Linked DNA regions of Homo sapiens: region 2 is linked to region 1. Evidence: promoter capture Hi-C in 16 types of primary human blood cells and fetal thymus (Javierre and others, 2016). All regions are on one chromosome and are shown on one strand. Each heading gives the region's core, a stretch centred on a gene start or on the middle of the fragment in contact. The rest is flanking DNA. Distances are from core to core; before and after follow the strand shown.

What was found. Contacts are between HindIII fragments. The CHiCAGO score rates a contact against its expected background, and 5 or more counts as called.
Region 2: a contact is called between the fragment with the promoter of GALK1 here and the fragment with the promoter of LLGL2 in region 1, in 1 of 17 cell types (endothelial precursors). The highest score is 5.2, in endothelial precursors.

What each region holds. Positions count from the first base shown.
Region 1 is chr17:75,523,639-75,528,255 of GRCh38, reverse strand. LLGL2 (LLGL scribble cell polarity complex component 2) reads right to left here and starts at 2,559. Exons shown (of 26, transcript NM_001031803.2): 1 at 2,431-2,559. It overlaps TSEN54 (tRNA splicing endonuclease subunit 54), which reads right to left. Exons shown (of 11, transcript NM_207346.3): 10 at 4,477-4,593; 11 at 3,521-3,994. The coding sequence ends at 3,844. RefSeq lists silencers at 2,853-3,037, 2,354-3,073, 3,094-3,193. The HindIII fragment of the contact is 9,748 bases long and covers 905-4,617 here.
Region 2 is chr17:75,763,415-75,768,031 of GRCh38, reverse strand. It overlaps GALK1 (galactokinase 1), which reads left to right and starts at 2,840. Exons shown (of 8, transcript NM_000154.2): 1 at 2,840-3,060; 2 at 3,946-4,135; 3 at 4,593-4,617. The coding sequence starts at 2,896. RefSeq lists silencers at 2,676-2,865, 3,096-3,245 and enhancers at 3,356-3,585, 3,616-3,825. The HindIII fragment of the contact is 22,999 bases long and covers 1-4,617 here.

The DNA.
Region 1 (4,617 bases), core at 1,310-3,809:
TGGTCCCAGCTACTCGGGAGGCCGAGGCAGGAGAATGGCGTGAACCCAGGAGGAGGAGCTTGCAGTGAGCCGAGATCTCGCCACTGCACTCCAGCCTGGGTGACAGAGCGAGACTCTGTCTCAAAATAAATAAATAAATAAATAAAAATAATAAAAAGTTATTTATACTAACGGGTCTGGCGTGGCAGTTCATGCCTGTAATCCTAACACTTTGGGAGGCAGGAGGATCACTTGAGCCCAGGAGTTCAAGACTAGCCTGGGCAACATGGCAAAACCCCCTTTCTAAAAAAAAAATAGAAAATTAGCTGTGCATGGTGCTGCGCGCTTGTAGTCCCAGCTACTCAGAAGGCTGAGGTGGGAGGATCACTTGAGCCTGGGAGGTCGAGTCTGCAGTGAGCCTCCATCTCCCAGTGATTGCACCACTGCACTCCAGCCTGGGTGACAGAGCAAGACTCTGCCTCAAAAAAAGAAAAAAAAAAAGTTACTAACAGCTGGGCACAGTGGCTTACACCTGTAATCCCAACGCTTTGGGAGGCTGAAGTGTGAGGGTCACTTGAGTCCAGGAGTTTGAGACCAGCCTGGGCAACATATGGTGAGATCCCATCTCTACAAATTAAAAAACATATTATTAAAGAAAAAAAGAATTTGGTCAACTTAGTTTAAAAAAAAGAAAAAAAAAGAGAAAAAAGTTACTTTTTTCTATTTTATTTCTTATTTATGAATGTAGTGTCATTTTAATATAATTAAAAGCATATTAATCTGACACCAAAGGGGAAACTCCCTTGCCTCAAGGAAGAATGGGGATGCCAAATGACCCTGGACCCCGGAAACCCTGTCCAGGAGCCCCCACAAAGATGGGCCCAGTCTAACTTCAGAGGAAAGGAGTGAACTCTGATTAGAAGCTTAAGAGCTGAGTTTGAGTTCTGTCTGCCACAGCTAGCACTGTGGGAAGATCGCCTAAGAAAACTAAACCCCAAATCCCAGTTCATAAAATAAAGCTGAGACATCTCTCGCACAGTTCTCCTTGTGCCTCTGCTCACACAGACCCAGACAGTTTTCCTCAAATGCCACTTTTTTTTTTTTTTTTTGAGACAGGGTCTCACTCTGTCCCCAGGCTGGAGTGTGGTGGCGCCATCATGACTCACTGCAACCTCCACCTCCTGGGCTCAGGCAATCCTCCCACCTCAGGCTCCTGAGTAGCTGGGACTACAGGTGCACGCCACCATGCCTGGCTAACTTTTTTTATTATTTGCAGAGACGAGGTCTCACTATGTTGCCCAGGCTGGTCTCAAACTCCTGGGCTCAGGCGATCCTCCTGCCTTGGCTTCCCAAAGTGCTGGGATTACAGCTGTGAGCCAATGCACCCAGCCTCAACTGCCACTTCTGACCTTGGCTTCCCCCGGGCTGGGCCACAGCTCTTCTGTGGCAGCTCTGCTCTTCCTACCAGCGTTTCCTTGTCACCTTGACACACCCATTCCCTCCCTGCCCGCTCCCTGCTCAGAATCCTCTCTGTAGCCCCTTCAAGAGAACTCAAGGTTCTCTTGAACTACAAACTCCAGCAGGGGGTCCCTGGAGCCCAGGTTAAGGCTGCCGGCAGTCGCATACGGATCCCCAGGGGAAGGGGCGCCCTCCTCACTCAAAGCTCACCTGTTCAGGTGAGAGCCTCAAAGCGCCACTCTACAGCTCCCCTGGTTAGGTCAGTTCTCCCCACAGCCAAGGCCCAGCGTGTCCACCAATCGTCCAGCCGGAACAAACTAAGACACACTTTCTTTGGCAAGATAGAATTTTCCACTTCTCGCCAAATCCCACAGCGCAAACCCCGCCCGTCAGCATGGAGGGCAGACTGGGTCTCCGCACTGTCATGTGAAGGTGTCCAAAGCCGCCCCAGCTGGAGAAAGGCCGGAGACCGAAGTCCCTCCCGCGGGCTTCCTGCGTCCGGGGATTAGGAGGCACAAAGGGCCGGCAGGGACACAGCCCAGATGGCAGGGGCAGGGGCTAAGCCGCCGGGGCACCGCGCTCCGGCCGCCGCCCGTGGGGAGGGGGTCACCGCAGACGCGCGTCGCCAACCCCGCTGGCCTGGCGCCTGCACGTGGGCCCGGGGACTCCGTCTCTGCCCGCGGTGCCCCCCGCACCCAGCCGGCCGGGGCACCTGTTCTCCTGCTCTCCTAAGCCAACATTATTGTGCAAACCCAAGCCCAAGTTTCAGTCATCGCGCAGATCAGGCAGAGAAGTTTCCCGCAGAACTTTCTACAGGTGTCTCTCTTCCAGGCCAGCACAGCGACGCGGACAGGGGCGAGGCGCGCGGACCTGGGCGCAGCCCTCCCGCCCTGGCCCGACAGCCCAGGGGTCCTGGGCCTCCCTGGCCTCCCCGCCCCAGGTGGAAGCCCCGAGGGGGCGGGCCCGGCTGGGCGAGTCCGGCACGCATCTCACCTGGAACCCCGGGCCAGCCCCCGCCCGAGGCCTCGGCGTCCCTCGGCGCCCGCCGCCGGCCCCGCTCGCTCCGCCGCGCCTGCCCACGGGCTGCTGGGCGGCCGTCTCCTTCCTGCTCACCTCCGGCGCGGCGAGCCTGGGGCGGAGCCGCGCTATTTACATAAAGGGCGAGCCTGCCGGGGCCCAGCGCCCCGCCCCCGGCCCGCCCCCCAGCTCGGCGCCGCAGGGGCGGGGGCACCCTCGGGGGTGGGGGCTGCGCTCCTGCCAATCCGCGGCCCCGGGAAGCGCGGGGCGGGGCCTCGCGAACGGCCTCGGGGTTCCGCAGGCCCGCCCCGGCCTCACCTGCGCGCACCTGGACGCAGAACGGCGCGCCGCGCCCAGTGTCCCGCCGCCTCCCGCAAGCGGAAATAGTTCCCGGAACGCCTGCGGTCCCGGGCCGCCTCCCAGACTCCAGGGGAGCCGTCCCTCCAACTCCCGGGAGCTGCCGAGGGAGGGGCGGATCCGGGCCAGCTCCTCTGCCAGAGCCCAGCCCAGAGAGGGTGACCGGGGGACGCAGGGCCGGGTTTCCAGCCCCACGAGAGGGATGGTGTAGGGACCGGGGCGTCGCGGCGAGACGCCTTTCCTCGGGGGGGGGTGCGGGGGGGCGCCCACCTCCTCCGTGTCGGCCGGAGGGTCTGCAACAGCGGGTGGAATTTTTAGCACAAGCGAGGGAGGAGGTTGGAGCGACGAGAGGCGGGAGCGGAAAGGGCGCGGAGGCCGGGGCTGCAGCGCGCTCCACCGCCCAGCTGCAGGTGGCGCCTCTCGCCACCCGCACCCCGCTGCGCCCAGGGAAGGGCCGATGGCGCGCCGTCCTCCCTCCTCCCTTCGGGAAGCCTGCGACGTCCCATCCCCTCCGACGCAGGCCCGGGAAAGGCTCAAAAGGTTCGAGGTCGCGTTCCTGCTATCCCGCGGGCTTCTCTCACTCTTAGATCCCGCACCAGAGGAAGCGGATCTCCTTGAGTGGGCAAAGCAGGGGTGAGGGGCTGGGGGCAGTTCCACTGACAACGGGACGGGGGCGAGAGGGGTTTACCCAGTACATACAGAAACAGCAGAAAAGAAATCTATTTTTAATGGCTTTGGCTTTATAGCACGAAGCAGGCACCCTCTCGTTAAAGGCACACAGTCCTCTCTTCTGCCCCACCTCCTGGGTCCTTAAAATCGAGTCCTGAGTTCCAGAGGGGTCACTGCAAGGCAGCAGGGAAGGGAGAGGGTCACAGTTTCACTCTGTGAGTATCAGACACCCAGGGCCAAGGCCCAGACTGGCCTCTGAAGCTACAGGTTAGAGTCTGGGTACAGGAGGCAGCCGAGATGGTCCCTGAGAACAGACAGTCCCGGTCCCCCGGAGCAAGCTCCATCCTCTGCAGAGCTGTGAGGTCAGTGCCCCACATCCTGGGGCAACGTGAAGTCCCTGAAGCTGTAGAAGGAGATGTCACCATGATCCACCAGGGCAAAGATCAGAGGGACATCCCCACTCTGGTAAGACAACCGCTTGAGGCTGCAGAGGTCTGGGACAGGCTCATCAAATCTGCAGGGACAAAGGGTTAGAGTGAGACCCAGCCATAGCCCACTCCTAAGCTCTAGGGCTCCCAGAGAAGAGATTCTACGGAAGGAGTTGGGGTGCAAGAATTCTGACCCATGAGTTCTGTCTCCAAAACACAGGGCTCTGATGAAGAGCGCCCCAGAGCACTGGTTGGGGAGGTGCTAGGAAGAGCAAGGTGCTCACCACTCTTAGCCTGTAAATCCCCACAATCCACATCCCTTCTGCTGGGTGAGTCCTAGACTAAAATGGCATTGGAGAAAGACTACCCTAAAATGCCAGCAACGAGGAGCTCAGAGTAGGGCAGCACAAACTGGCTGTGTGGCCTTGTGTAGGTCACTTAGCCTCTCTGGACCTCCTGTTCCTCTCAGAGATTGGCACGCTGGCCAGGGGAGTACAGAGGAGTCCCACTTGGTTCACAGGAGAACTGGCAGCAGCTGGGGGAGGGGCAGTGCTGGCTCACTGCGTACCCACTAATGCACATCCGGGCATAGGGTTTGCCAGGGTTATTCTTTCGGAATGTGGCCACAGCGTCGGCCTGGTAAACATCAAAGATGATTTCCAAGCCCCCAGACTTCTCCAACAGCCTGACAATACAATGAGAAACGTTA
Region 2 (4,617 bases), core at 1,591-4,090, 240 kb before region 1:
TCTTGAACTCCTGCTCTCAAGTGATCCGCCTACCTCGGTCTCCCAAAGTCTGGGATCACAGGCATGAACCACCACATCTGACATTTGAGCATCTTTTCATGTGCTTATTGGCCATTTGTATTTATATTATTTGGAAAAATGTCTCTTGAAATCTTTTGCTTTTTTTTTTTCTTCTTTGACACAGGGTCTCTCACCTTCTGAGTAGCTGGGACCACAGGTGTGTGCCACCCAACCTGGCTAATTTTTTTTTTTTTTTTTGTAGCAGTGAGGTCTTCCCACGTTGCCCAAGTTGGTCTCAAACTCCAAGCCCCTGAGATATACATGATTTGCAAGTACTTTCTTCCATTCTGTGAGTTGTCTTTTCACTTTCTTGACAATGTTCTTGTCAGGCCTCTGAGCCCAAGCTAAGCCATCATAGCCCCCGTGACCTGCACGTATACATCCAGATGGCCTGAAGCAACTGAATATCCACAAAAGAAGTGAAAATAGCCTTAACTGATGACATTCCACCACTGTGATTTGTTCCTGCCCCAACCTAACTGATCAATGTACTTTGTAATCTCCCCCACCCTTAAGAAGGTTCTTTGTAATTCTCCCCACCCTTGAGAATGTACTTTGTGAGATCCATCCCTGCCCGCAAAACATTGCTCCTAACTCCACCACCTATCCCAAAACCTATAAGAACTAATGATAATCCCACCACCCTTTGCTTACTCTTTTCAGACTCAGCCCGCCTGCACCCAGGTGAAATAAACAGCCTTGTTGCTCACACAAAGCCTGTTTGGTGGTCTGTTCACACGGACACGCGTGACAGTTCTTTGTTGCAGAAAAATATTTCACTTTGATGAAGTACAGTTTATTTTTCTGTTGTCACTTGTGCTTTTGATGTCATATCTAAAAAACCATTGCCTGGCCGCATTGGCTCACACCTGTATCCCAGCACTTTGGGAGGCTGAGGCAGGCAAATCACTTGAGGTCAGGAGTTCAAGAGCAGCCTGGCCAACATGGTGAAACCCTGCTTTTACAAAAATTATCCAGGCATGGTGGAGGGTGCCTGTAATCCCAGTTACTGGGGAGGCTGAGGCAGGAGAATCGCTTGAACCTGGGAGGCGGAGGTTGCAGTGAGCCAAGATCGCGCCACTGCACTCCAGCCTGGGTAACAGAGCAAGATCTGTCTAAAATAAATAAATACGTAAATAAATAAAAATAAAAAAACATGACTAGGTGTGGTGGCTAACGCCTGTAATCCCAGCACTTTGGGAGGCCAAGGTGGGTGGATCACCTGAGGTCAGGAGTTTGAGACCAGCCTGGCTAACCTGGTGAAACCCCAGTCTCCACTAAAAATACAAAAAATTAGCCGGGCATGGTGGCACGTGCCTGTAATCCCAGCTACTCCGGAGGCTGAGGCAGGAGAATCGCTTGAACCCGGGAGGCAGAGGTTGCAGTAAGCTGAGATCACGCCATTGCACTCCAGCTTGGACAACGAGAGCGAAACTCCGTCTCAAAAACAGAAACCAAATAAACATTTCCTAACCAATGTCACAAAACTGTACCCCTATGTTTTCTTCTAAGAGTTTTCAGAATTGCCCTTGGAATGCAGTTCCCCACTCTTTGGGCACACCCCTGAGCAGGCCCCAAGCTAAATCCCTGGCCATAACTCCCCACACTACTCCCACCCTAACCCCAAGCAAGCTGCTTACATTTCAGTCTTTCAGTTTCAAGGTTCCATGTAGGGTGGGCAGCTGTGGACAGGTATCAAGGCAGCAGTTGGGGCCGGCCAGCAGGTTTAGGATGCAGGATAGCAAGAGAAGAGTGCCTGACTGGGAACAAGGCCACGCCTCTGAGACAAGGGCTTCTGGGCTGAAGTAGTGCCTGCTGGGGCCAACAGCACAACCTACCTGGACAGCTGTGGCAGGTCCTTAAGGGAGGGGCTGGGCCCACTGCTGGCCACCGCCACCCTAGTCCAATTCTCCATTGCTAGGAGCTGTTGCGTATTACCTAGAAAAGGAGCTTGTAAAATTGACTCTCTGGTCACCACCAAACTTGTCTTTTTTTTTTTTGAGACAGAGTTTTGCTCTTGTTGCCCAGGCTGGAGTGCAATGGTGTGATCTCAGCTCACCGAAACCTCCGCCTCCCAGGTTCAAGTGATTCTCCTGCCTCAGCCTCCCGAGTAGCTGGGATTACAGGCATGAGCCACCATGCCCAGCTAATTTTGTATTTTTTAGTAGAGATGGGGTTTCTCCATGTTGGTCAGGCTGGTCTCCAACTCCCGACCTCAGGTGATCTGCACACCTCGGCCTCCCAAAGTGCTGGGATTACAGGCGTGAGCCACTGCGCCCGGCCCAAACTTGTCTGTCTTTATCTCTACTTACAGTGAGTGTCAGGTCACCCTCTTGGAGACCGGTGATCAGAGGCTGATGACCTCTCACAGCTGCTGGCCCTGGGGACCTAGGGGATCCCTTTGGGAATCCCAGGTCAACCGGGTGCCAGCTCCATTGCTCTGGCTGTGTGGGTGGTGGTGGGTGGTGAGGCACATAGAAAGTCACCAGCGCCAGGGAAGGGCAGCTCAGAAATCCTGGTCATGCCAAGTGCCACTCAGGGCTATTCTCACTCTAGTGAGTGCTCATTGGTTCTTCCCGAAGTCCAGAGGGAAGGACACCATCGGGGGCGCTGTATCCCACCCGGCACCATTAGCCCCTGCCACCCACCACCCAGCAGCTGGATTCCCACGGGAGTTGCGGGTGGGGGCGGAACCGGCTGAGGTCTGGGGGCGGGGCGTCCGGGCGCGGGGCGGGGCTGGCGGGAATGTGCGCACCCCCGCGCGGGGCCCCGCCCGAGCATCCCGCGCCGACGGGGCTGTGCCGGAGCAGCTGTGCAGAGCTGCAGGCGCGCGTCATGGCTGCTTTGAGACAGCCCCAGGTCGCGGAGCTGCTGGCCGAGGCCCGGCGAGCCTTCCGGGAGGAGTTCGGGGCCGAGCCCGAGCTGGCCGTGTCAGCGCCGGGCCGCGTCAACCTCATCGGGGAACACACGGACTACAACCAGGGCCTGGTGCTGCCTATGGTGAGGGGCTGCACGGGGAGCCCCTAGCCCGCCGCCGCCTGTCCCGGCCGCCGAGGAGGGCGGGCCTCGGGGACGCTGGGGGCGAGTTCTTCCCGCGGGAGATGTGGGGCGGGCAGCTGCGCCTGGAGCACCGGTGCACGGAAGAGTCCCCGGGACAGGCTGTTCCCCACGTTGGAAGGGAGGAAGCGAGGAAGTGGCCGGGAGAGGGTGCGCGGCCGCCTCTTGGCTCAAGCCCGCCCTCTGGGGGCTGGGGCTCCTCGCCTTCAACCTGGGAGCATGTTCCCCTTAAACTGTGAGGCCCTGTGTGCCACGCAGAAGGGGACACTCCGCGCCTCCGGCCACCGTGGGGCCCCAACCGCAGACCTGGGCGAACGTAGCCTTCTGGCCCAGCCCGTTCAATTTACAGAGGAGGAAACTGAGGCCTAGAGAGGCCCAGTGAACTGCTGGAGGTCACACAGCAGGTTCTTGGCGGGGCTGCGACTTGGGAGTGAGGACTCCCAGCTTTCAGCGGGGGGCGCTTTCCGCCCCATCTGCAGCTTGGGGAGTGCACAGGTACAGGATGTCCAGAGCCACCCCAAAATGTAAAGGCTTTGGAGCTCCAGTGATCTGTTTTCCCTTTGGGCTAGCTCTCCCCCTTGCCCCACAGCTCAGGGCAGAGTCCAGGTCTGTGCTCCAGCTGCAGCCGCCCCGCCCCTGAAGACCTAAGGGGGCAGGGCTCAAGCCCCCAAGGTCAGCTGGCCCTCAGGATCTTCCCTGCGACGCTGAACCTGGAGGTTCAGAACCTGATGACTGTGGAGGCATCAGAACCTCGGCTGGAGGCAGTGTCATTGGAGAGGCTTACTCCAGCTGGCGGAAGCCTCACGTACTGCTTGTCTCTCCTGCCAGGCTCTGGAGCTCATGACGGTGCTGGTGGGCAGCCCCCGCAAGGATGGGCTGGTGTCTCTCCTCACCACCTCTGAGGGTGCCGATGAGCCCCAGCGGCTGCAGTTTCCACTGCCCACAGCCCAGCGCTCGCTGGAGCCTGGGACTCCTCGGTGGGCCAACTATGTCAAGGGAGTGATTCAGTACTACCCAGGTATGGGGCCCAGGCCTGAGCCAAGTCCTCACTGATACTAGGAGTGCCACCTCACAGCCACAGAGCCCATTCATTTGTCTGATACACTGTGGGGAAGGCTTGTAGAGTGGAGCATCCCATTGTACAGATGAGGAAACTGATGCCCCCAGAAGGTCGGGAACTTGCCCTGGGTTTCCCGTGACCTGATTGGAGGAGCCAGGATTTGAACCCCAGCCTTTTTTCCCTCCAGAGCCCTAAACCAGGAGGACAATTAGAAGTGTCCCAGCAACCTCAGAGGGTGGGAAAATGGAGGGCAGTGGGTCCCTTGGCCCAGCAGGTTGGTGGCTTCTGACAATTGAGACACACACCCTAGAAACAGCTGCTAGGCCGTTGCTGCCCTTCCCGCCAGGACACCTGCCCTTCCTGTGCCATCCTCCCAGGCAGCCCCTCTTACCATCACCTGTTCTTTCCCCTGCAGCTGCCCCCCTCCCTGGCTTCAGTGC